Regions from separate parts of the Homo sapiens genome. Here region 1 is linked to region 2. The links are contacts of gene promoters, found by promoter capture Hi-C in blood cells and fetal thymus (Javierre and others, 2016). All regions are on one chromosome and are shown on one strand. The core of a region is centred on a gene start or on the middle of the fragment in contact, and the rest is flanking DNA. Distances in the headings are between cores, read along the strand shown.

Evidence for each region. Contacts are between HindIII fragments. The CHiCAGO score rates a contact against its expected background, and 5 or more counts as called.
Region 1: a fragment that was not itself captured here is called in contact with the fragment with the promoter of NEIL3 in region 2 in 2 of 17 cell types (fetal thymus and monocytes); the score reaches 8.7 in fetal thymus.

What each region holds. Positions count from the first base shown.
Region 1 is chr4:177,447,665-177,453,348 of GRCh38, reverse strand. The region is part of intron 1 of AGA-DT (AGA divergent transcript); the gene reads right to left. Among named protein-coding and RNA genes, the nearest start is that of AGA-DT, 5.5 kb to the right of the region's middle. The HindIII fragment of the contact is 9,950 bases long and covers 1-5,684 here.
Region 2 is chr4:177,308,172-177,313,495 of GRCh38, reverse strand. NEIL3 (nei like DNA glycosylase 3) reads right to left here and starts at 3,622. Exons shown (of 10, transcript NM_018248.3): 1 at 3,387-3,622. The coding sequence starts at 3,542. RefSeq lists an enhancer at 3,452-3,541 and a silencer at 3,622-3,741. The HindIII fragment of the contact is 15,817 bases long and covers 3,004-5,324 here.

The DNA.
Region 1 (5,684 bases), core at 885-3,384, 140 kb before region 2:
AAAAAAGGAAGGCAAATGAAAAGCAACAATTGTTAGGGTTTCTAAGGCTAAGTCACCCTTATATTGCAAGACACCCTCTTCAATTTGTGGTTGAACCTACCTTTGAAGCCTAGAATACAATGTTAGTGGTATATGAAAAGGGCTGTTATCATTTATTACAAACTCCTTATTTTCCAACTCCAGCCTGCACTTTGTCATTATCAGCAATACCAATAGATTTCCCATCAACCAACTAGACTCCCTCTACAGTAAGGGATAACCCTCACTTTTAGTGTTATAACTTAGGTGTTTTAAAATGATACTGAAGAAAGGCAAAAGACTGTGATTAACTAGGATTCAGCAATGTTAGGCTACTTGATTCAAATGGACCCCCATTCATGTTTCACAATCTTTTTTGTTCAGTTATTGCCCATCTTCATAAGACTTTCCATAATAAATCTTTTAAAATGCTTCACCAATTTCTAGTCACCAATTCGATTTCAAATCTGTTGTAATCTTGGCAGGTGATTTTTACTACTCTTAGAGAAGATCAAGATTAGCAGGCATTAATCCCCCATGTTCCTTTAATCTCTTATTCTGAAAAATAACCATCTTTTTCTCCCAGATGGAGAACTGTCATTTTCCTTTCTATCTCTCCTTGAGCACCACAGTCATAATTCTGATGTTGAATGAGGCTTCTTTGGTCCTTGAGATCTAAATAAGATAGGTTTAGACTCTGAATTTATTCTCTTCTGAAGTCCAAAGTCCTTTAAAACGTTTCTAGACATTTACATAGGTCTTAAATTTTCAAGCTCACCTAAGTATCTGAGCTTCTGTTTCTGCATGTGCTATTCCCATTATATACCATGTGGGGTTTGGGGGCTTTTTTGTTTGTTTTTTGAAACATAGTCTCGTTCTATTGCCTACACTGGAGTGCAGTGGCCTGATCTGAGCTCACGGCAACCTCTGACACATGGCAGCCAATAAATACTTTTGAAAAGAAAAGGGAGAGGAGAGGAGAGGAAAGGAGAGGCGGGGAGAGGAGGGGTGGGGAGGGGAGAGGCTGAAGCAATTCTCCTGCTTCAGCCTCCTGAGTAGCTGTGATTACTGGCATGCACCACCATACCCAGCTAATTTTTTGTATTTTTAGAAGACACGGGTTTCGCCATGTTGGCCATGCTGGTCTCGAACTCCTGGCCTCAAGTGATCTGCCTGGTCTGGCCTCACAAAGTGCTGGGATTACAGGCGTGAGCCACTGCTCCCGGCCCCACTGTATACTATGTTGATCCGGAAGCGAAATCCAGATCCTTCAAAATTTTTTGAAAAAAAGAAAGCAATATTGTTGAGTACTGGAGACTTCATTGAAAAGGCCAGGTGGCATCGTTCTGATGATGAGAATAAAGCAGTATTCTACTGGGAGTGTCTGAGAAGGCTTTTGCTTTCTGGATGAAAAGGGAAAGATGTGGCTGATACCAGGTCCTTGTCCTTTTCCCCAGCTTGAATGTGGATGTATGTCTGGAGCAACAGTAGCTGTCTTGTGAAAACAAAGCAGCAAGTAAGTTCTCACAGTTTAGAGCTACTGAACCAATGCCAGCAACTTTCTTATTAGGTGCAAAAAAGTAAAGCCTTGTCGCTTTAAATCACCATTAAGTTTTCTGTTATTTGCAACCGAAAGCACTTAAAGCTAATACAAAATTGCAGAGTTACCATGATCATAACTCTAAACCTATGAAATTCAAGGGGTTTAATGATTTATGAGTTGGGTGCGGTGGTACATACCTGTTAGTCGCAGCTGAGGCAGGAGGATCGCTTGAGTCCAGGAGTTCCAGGCTGCAGTGAGCTATCATTGTACCTTTGAATAGCCACTGCACCCAGCCTGGGAAACACAGCGAGACCTGGCATTAAAAAAAAACATTTTTAAGCTGTGCCTTTATTCTAAGGGCCATCCAGTAATAAGGGAACCTAAACTACTGAGTGTCCTCAGAGCTCTGGGTGCAATTAAAAGTTAGTGGTTTCACAGCTACCCAATTCTGTGGTTAGTAGAAAATTATAAAGATGATAGGAGGATCAAAAAGCCTCTTCCACAGAAGCTACATTAGCTGGGTGTGGTGGCCCATGCCTGGGATTCCAGCTGCTCAGGAGGGTGAGGTGGAAGGGTTGCTTGAACCCAAGAGGCAGAGGATGCACTGCCAATCCTCTCAATCTTGAGCCAAGATTGGACCACTGCATTCCAGCCTGGGCAACAGAGCAAGACACTGTCTCAAGCCCCTCTGATATGAGGGGCTTCCTCATATCAGAGTTCTTATGATACCATTCTCTCAAACCACCTGACTCCCTGAATTTGTCCTGAATTTGGAGAACTGCTTAATCTCTAAATCTGCCCTCTTGAGAAACCTTAGTGTTAGTAACAGACAGCGCTAACTCTGCTTTGTCAGAGTCCTGAATTCCTAATACTGACCTTCACTCATGATCTAGCGTGATGCTATTTTAATTGCTACTGACTATCATATAAACTCAACATAGTATCTGACAGATTAATTCTGAAAAAATTCTTCGTATACAAAGCCAAAAATTTTTACAGCAACAGAAATCAATGGTTAAGTAATTTCTGTGCATCATAAATAGATTTTATACATCCTTTAAAATTACATTGTATCTGCACATGGAATTTTTTTTCAGAGACAAGGTCTCACTGTGTTGCCCCAGGCTGGAGGGCCGTGGTGCAAACAGCTCATTCTAGTTTTGAAACACTGAGCTTGAGCAATCCTCCTGCCTCAGCCTTCCATTTAATAGCTGGGACTACAGGCAGCAGTTGCCACCACAAAGTTAACTTAAAAAAATTTTTTTTTAGAAACAGAGTCTAGCTGCATTGCTCAGGCTGGTCTCTAACTCCTGGCCTCAAGCAATCCTCATGCCTCAGCCTTCCCAGTAACTAGGATTACAGACATGCACCACCACACCCAGGTGCACATGGATGTTTACAGCAGCTTTATTCATAATTCCCAAAACTTGGAAGCAGCCAAGATGTCCTTCAGTAGGAGAATGAATAAACTGTGATACATCCAGACAATGGAATATTATTCAGCGCTTAAATAAAATGAGCTATCAAGCCATGAAAAGACATGGAGGAACCTTAAATGCGTATTACAAAGTGAAAGAAGCCAATCTAAAAAAGTCTCCATACTGCACAATTCCAACTAAATGACCTTCCAGAAAAGGCAAAAACCATGGAGACAGTAAAAAGGTCAGTTGGTTGCCATGAGTTAGAGGGGAGGGAGGGATGAATAGATGGAGTAGAGGATTCTTGCAATACTCTAATGGAATATATGCCAGTATACATTTGTCAAACCCACAGAATGTATAATACCAAGTGTGAACCTTAATATGAATTATGGATGTGGAATGATAATGATGTGTACAATTTGTTCATCAACTGTAACAAATGTGCCATGAGGTCACGAGATCAAGACCACCGCTAACGCAGTGAAACCCTGTCTCTACTAAAAATACAAAAAATTAGCTGGGCCTGGTGGTGGGTGCCTGTAGTCCCAGCTACTCGGGCGGCTGAGGCAGGAGGATGGCGTGAACCCAGGAGGCGGAGCTTGCAGTGAGCCGAGATGGCGCCACTGCACTCCAGCCTGGGCAACACAGCAAGATTCCGTCTCAAAAAAAAAAAAATATGAACTATGGATGTGGAATGATAATGATGTGTAGAATTTGTTCATCAAGTGTAACAAATGTGCCACTCTGGTGGGAAGGCTATCATGTGTGGGGGCAGGGGTATATTTTGTACTTTCTGCTCAATTTTGCTGTGAACCAAAAATTGTTCTTAAGAAATAAAGTCTTCAACTTAAATGTAAGACCTGAAACTATAAAAATTCTAGAATAAAATCATAAAATCTAGGAAAAACTCTTTTGGACATTGGTCTAGGCAAAGAACTTATCACTAGGTCCTCAAAAGGAAATGTGACAAAACCAAAAATAGACTAATGGGACTTCATTAAACCTAAAGGCTTCTGCACAGCAAAAGAAGTAATCAACAGAGTAAACACACAACCTTCAGAATGGGAGAAAATATTTGGAAACAATGCATCTGGCAAAGGACTAATATCCAGAATTTAGGAAGAAATCAAACAATACAATGACAAAAACAACAAATAACCCCATTAAAGAGTAGGCAAAGACATGAACACATATTTTTCAAAAGAAGACATACAAGTGGCAAACAACCATATGAAAAAAATGTTCAGCATCAGTAATCATCAGAAAAATGCAATTTAAAACCACAATGAGATACCATCTCATACCAGTCAGAATGGCTATTACTAAAAAAGCAAGAAACAGCAGATGTTGGCAAGGATGTGTAGAAAAAGAAACACTTATACACAGTTGGTGGGAATGTAAATTAGTATAATCTCTATGGAAAACAGCATGGAGATTTCTCAAAGAACTAAAAATAGATCTACCCTTCGATCCAGCAATCCCACTACTGGGTATCTAACCAAAGGGAAAGAAAGCATTTTATCAAAAAGACACCTGCACTCAAATGTTTATCACAACACTATTCACAATAGCAAAGTCATGGAATCAACCTAAATGTCCATCAGCAAACAACTGGATTAAAAATGTGATATATGTATATATACACACACACACCATGGAATACTACTCATCCATAAAAATGAATGAAATCATGTCGTTTGCAGCAATGTTAATGGAACCGAAGGCCATTATCCTTAGTGAAATAACTCAGAAACAGAAAGTAAAAAACTGGATGTTTTCATTCGTAAGTGGGAGCTAAACAATGAGTACACACAGACATTTAGAGTGGAATAACAGAAGACTCCAAAAGGTAGGAGGGAAGGAGGGGGTGAGGAATGAAATACTACCTTTTGGGTGCAATGTATCCTGTTTGGGTGATGGGTACACTAAAAGCCCAGACGTCACCGTTACTCAATATATACATATAACACAACTACACTTATACCCCGTATCTATAAAAATAAAAAATTAAATAAAATTTTTTTAAATCTTCAGAGAACATGTTATAGAGGTCCTTAGCGGTTTTCTGGGGTACTGACAATATTCTGTTTGTTTATATAAGTGGTGATTACATAGCTGTTCATTTTCTACAAAATTATTTAATCTATTTATTTACATTTTATGTCCTTTACTGTATTTACATTGCACAATGAAGGTTTTTAAAAAGCATAAATTTTAATGATATGCAGAGGTCAAAGAGATATTAAATAAAAAAGCAGGTTCTACAACAGTGTGTATAATACCAAGATTTTTCACCAAACAGATACATATCAAAATGTTAAGAGGCTGGTGATTTTCAACAAGAGCTAGAGTATTTCAGAGATATTTGAAGGACACAAAAGTGTTTCTAAAAAATGAAAAAAATAAGCTATGTTATGTGAAAATCTTTCCTTTCATATTTTTATATGAATGATTGAGAATTAACAGACTATTTGTGTAGCTACACACAGGATACATGTGTTCATTATTTGGATAGTTTTCTAATACTCATTGTCATGATCGACAAGTAGATATCATTTTAAATGCATAATGTACTTCCTGTAAGTCACTGTTAGTTTAGAAGTTTGCTTTTATTGTTGAATTTCTTTATTGAAATCATCTGTCACACTACCTTAACAATGTCAAAGTCATTTTTTAAGTGGTAGGAAGACATCCTGACATCT
Region 2 (5,324 bases), core at 2,373-4,872:
TTATGCAATTTGCTTATACTGTTGCACAATTTTATGCTGACAAGACAGTGGATCACGACTCAGAAAAATAATATAGTACATCCATGACTAGCAGATGCTGGGATCTTCTATGGCTAGGTTTTCTCAAAATGAGGATCAGTTGTCACAGGCAGACATGCATTCAAGTGTGTTCTCTATAAACTTTATACTGTAACAAAGAGGAATGCTATATGACACAGTAACAGTCCATTATGGCAATAACTACTGAAGTAGTGTTTTTTGGTTTGTTTTTTGGTATGATTATCTGAGGTTTAAATATTTTATTTTGAATGCCCATTAAATATTTCTTTAGCTCTCATTAGTAACTTTTTCCATGTTTACTGCACTGTAAAGAATGCAGTATGCAGTTATTAAATTATTTTTAAATGCTGCCTTGTGAAAACTAATCATTTCAAGCCAGTAGCAGAAACATTTAAATAGCTTTAACTCTTTGGCATAAATGCCTAGGAGACATGGGATCATCTGCTACAGTAATGATCTTGCCAGAGGTTTGTGACAACCTACCATGTTTTAATGAAATTTACTATGGATCCCTCTAAAATGCAAAAGACTCTTCATGTTTACAAAAGGTTATAATTATGTTTTTTTTTTCAGATCAAAGTCCCAGAAAATGAAGCCATAGTAAATTATTTAGAAATTTACCAACAGCCTCAAAGAATGTATTCCTTCCATATTGATTTTAAAATCCAGTGTCCATAGAACCAGATTCCTGATACTAACCACAAAGACCTATTCCAATTTTTAATGCCTCTTTCTATCAAGGTATCAAAAATAATACCTTTAAATGCCAGGCTTTTTATGTGTGGGGTATAACTTATTGAATATTGCTGCCAAGTGATGTTAATAATTGCCTAACCATTACTGACGCATTTGTATTATATTATCAGGCTGCACTCTTTTGTGCAATCCAAACATGGCCATAGAAGCTGTTAGAAGAGAATTATCAGAATAGATATAAGAGAATTGACTCAACCGAACAAAACTAAAAATGGTGGTAGACACAGCCAAAAATCCAAGATTGCACTTTTCTATTTAATAAATAACCACTACTATATACTGAGCATTATGGTGTTCTTACCGTTGTATGCTAAAAAAGCAATAAAGATCCTACTGAATCTTTTATGGCTGAGAGGAGCTATGGCATGGTTAAGAGGGTAGGCTTTGGAGTTTTAAAGAAAAATCAAACCCTGGTTTAGCCCCTTACTAGACATGTGATCTTGGGCAAATTTACTTAAAGTCACTCTGAGCCTCATATGCCTCATCTGTAGAATCAGGTTAATCCTTTATCATAGGGTTATCCTTTTTCATGACTGAATGAAATGTAAAAGCATCTCATGCCATACCATCAGAGATAATCACAACAAAACTTAAAAGGAAATGTTTAAGCTATTTTTCCTAAATACCAATGAGGTGATATTTATTTAAAACATTAGGTTGGACTCTCACAGCAGAAAGCATATCCTACTCATCTTCGTATCCGCAGGAGCTAGCATAAAACCTAACACAAAATACGTTGTGGTTGAATGATGTAAATGATGATATCCCTAAGTATATTCATGTCATATCCATTGCTTAGCCCTCCCATCATAGTGATTCTCTTGTCTTCATCTCCACCACCAGCACTTGACCCCAAATTTGTCACCTGGATTTCTGCAGTCGACTCCTAAATGAGAGGGCAGTGTCTACTCTGGCTTTCTTTCAGTCTTTTTCCTGTTCCAATCCCTGAGCTGCATGGCTTCTACTCACCCTGCACACCTCAGCTTTTTTTTTTTTTTTTTTTTTGAGACAGAGTTTCGCTCTTGTTGCCCAGGCTGGGGTGCAATAACGCGACCTCAGCTCACTGCAACCTCCACCTCCTGGATTCAAGCGATTCTCCTGCCTCAGCCTCCTGAGTAGCTGGGATTACAGGCATGCACCAGCATGCCTGACTAATTTTTTATTTTTGTAGGGATGGAATTTCTCCATATTGGTCAGGCTGGTGTTGAACTCCCAACCTCAGGCGATCTGCCCACCTCAGCATCCCAAAGTGCTGGGATTACAGGCATGAGCCACTGCACCCGGCCCACACCTCAGCTTTGCTACTTCCCTGGGGAAGCCTTCCCAGGTCTTCCTACAAGTCCTTAAAGAATCGTGTATCTCTCCTTCACAGAACTTATTAATTTATATTTCTTTAGGTGATTATTTAATGAATGTCTTTGTGTCTTCCCAACTGAAGTATAGGCTCCAAAAGAGGAAGTATTTGTTTTTGCTCCCCAGGTGTCTTGAGTATTCAAAATTTTATTGAATGAGTAATTTTCATAAATATTAATATTCTTAAGAAACCATCTAAAATCCATCTCTGTGGTACCCTGAAACGATTTTAGAAACACTATAACAATAATAAAAAAAAATAGGTACAGAGTACTTACTGGCATATCAAGTCAAAATAAACAAAAGGGCAATTGGAAGGAGATGTAAAACTTATTTTTTCCCAAGTTTGAAAATATATTTTCTTAGACTTAGAACCTCATTTCTTTCAAGTTGTAAGCATATGCTAATTTCATAGCAGGCAACTTTTTCTTCCAGGACCAAAGGCTATAAGAAGCTTTGCAGAAGAAATTGAAATACAGTGCAATATTGCATGTAGGCATGAAATACAATCATCCATACATCTAGAGGGCTTTTAAAACATGATGCCTTAATCAGAATATTTTTAGTACAAGTTCTGGCCAAATGAATACCACATCGTCTGCAATGAATGCCTGAGTGGCAAGAAGCTGTGCTAGTTTACTTTAAAAAGAAATAAATTCACTTAAGGGAACCAGAACTGGGTTTCATTGCCCCTTAATTAGATGGCAATATGAAGTTGAGTGAGAAGTTAGTGCTAAATTTTCTACGTGTAGTTTTAGAATTATATACTAGTTGTGATATACTTACCAATTGCAGATTAGCCAAGCAAGAAAGTAGAATTTTATGCTAAAAGCTTAAAATGGGACGAAGAAAACATATCAGAGGTAGCAGAGATTTGATAATATCAATAGTAAAAAATGCAGCTGTAGACATGGGAAACCATGTGTGTATCATAAAGAAGTTAAGTAAGGTGACTCGGATAAAACACCTTCACTGGATTCCCCTAGGGCATCTTGCTCCGGCAGCGTGAGCCCAGAACGCTAGCCCTCCTCTCCTGCGCAGGCGCGCTAGGACCGACTTCTCCCTACAGTAAAGTGACGATAAACTCTGTGAAAGGTGGGACCCCAGGAAACCTGGGCCAGAGCAAAGAGATGACACTTTAAATCCTGGAACCCTGATGGGGTCTTTATTCCATTTCCCCCCTGCTGACTGCATGGCCTGTTACAGGAGTAGCTCACCTGCGGGGAGACCACAACCGTGGAGGCTGCGAGCCGCAAGGCGCGGCCCTGCAGACTCCGCAGAGCGCTTCCCCGCACGCCGGTCACCGCCTGGCCCGGGAGCACCCGCGCGCGAATCTTCTCTCCATTCAGAGTACAGCCTGGTCCTTCCACCATCTCTGTGGCCGGCACTGTGGCCCACCGATTGCAGGGCCTGGTGAGAATACCGCTGTGCAACTCAACGCTGCGCGGGCACTGACCGCACGCAGAGGAAATTCAAATCTCGCGCGCGTCTGGCCCCGCCCAGGCCCCGCCCAAACAGCACCCTAGCTGTTGAGGTCGCTCCCTACGGCGCATGCGCTGTGGTTCACCCCCGCCCTAGGTCTTGCTGTGGGTTTATTAAGAAAACGCAAACGCGCGTGGGGCGGGGGGCGTGGAGGACAACTAACTAGGCTGAACTGTAAAAGCAGAAGAAATTGGGACTTGGAAAGCTCTGAATGTATTTTCTTTGCGTTAAAGTTTTGCCCTTGTCTTTGAGCTACTTAGTATACACACATTTTCTGATCTGGTCCTCTTAATCTGTCCTTGTCTGTGACAGGACAGATATGTCACAGACAATCTTGTTTTTGGCTCTGTTTTTGGCATGCTATATTCGGACGTGGGTGGGATAAGAGAAACGAAGAAGAGGGTTTTTGGAACAAACAGCAGAATATATTCTAGTGTCTATATTTAAAAACTCCATTATTAGATAGTTAAGTGAGCCCTACCTAAGTGCATGCATCCATTTTGTAAGGGGACGCCCCAAGATGAAAGCTATATGAAATTGCTTTGTTAAACGTAGAGGTTTATATAAATTTGAGGGTAATGCGTAGCTTTTCAAATTTACCCACAACCCTAACCAAAGATGCATGCATACATATAAATCTATGAAGTTTATGACTCCATATAGTTTTGTAAATTATAAAGTGTATTCTTTTTTGAAAACTGAAATACTACACATTAAAACAGAATGTCAATTTCTAAGTGATTTCATAAGCATAGCACTGTGCTGCCGTTAAACCACAAGAGCATATACACAGGTGGTTGCTGACTTAGGATGCCCCAGCGTAACAGTGTTTTGACTGTATGATGGTGCAAAAGTGACACACAGTAGAAACTGTACTTTGAGTACTCATATAGCCATTCTGTTTTTCATTTTCAGTACAGTAGTCAATAAATTATTCAACACTTTATTATAAAATATGCTTTGTGTTAGGTGATTTTTCCCAACTGTAGGCTAATGTAAGTGTTCTGAACACATTTAAGGAGGGCCTCGTGAAGCTATGATGTTTGGTAGGTTAGATATATTAAAGGCATTTTCGACTTACTGTATTTTCAGTTTACAACGGGTTTATCAGGACATAACCCCATCGTAAGTTGAGGAGCATCTGTATACTAGAGAGTTGAATTTGAATATACTGAAGACTTGATTGAAATTTTGAAAAGTATTAAATCTTTCCTTTGCAGGGAGAGATTAGTGATCAAAAGTTGGCTGGATCAATTTCAGGACTATTTGTACTTTACTCCCTTGTTCAATTCAATAATCTCTGTCCTTTGATGGAGAAAAGTCCTATATACCTTCTCCTCTTTCAGCGTTGTACTAGTTATTTATTGTTACCTCATCAATTATCCCATTTGTTATTTCAAAGTTTCTGTGGGTCAGGAATTTGGCAATAGTCTAGCTAGCCAGAGTCATCCTGGCTCAGCATTTCTCAAGAGGTTACAGTTAAAATATTAGCCAAGGCTAAAGTGCCCCAAAGGCTTTTTGTAGCTAAAAGATCCACTTCCGAGATGAGTCACTTGCATGGCTGTTGGCAGGAGGCCTCAGTTTCTCACCTCTTGTGTCTCTATAGTGCAGCTCGGCTCTTCTAATGACATGGCAGCTGAGAGTGTGATCCAAGAGAGAAGTCAAGGAGAAAG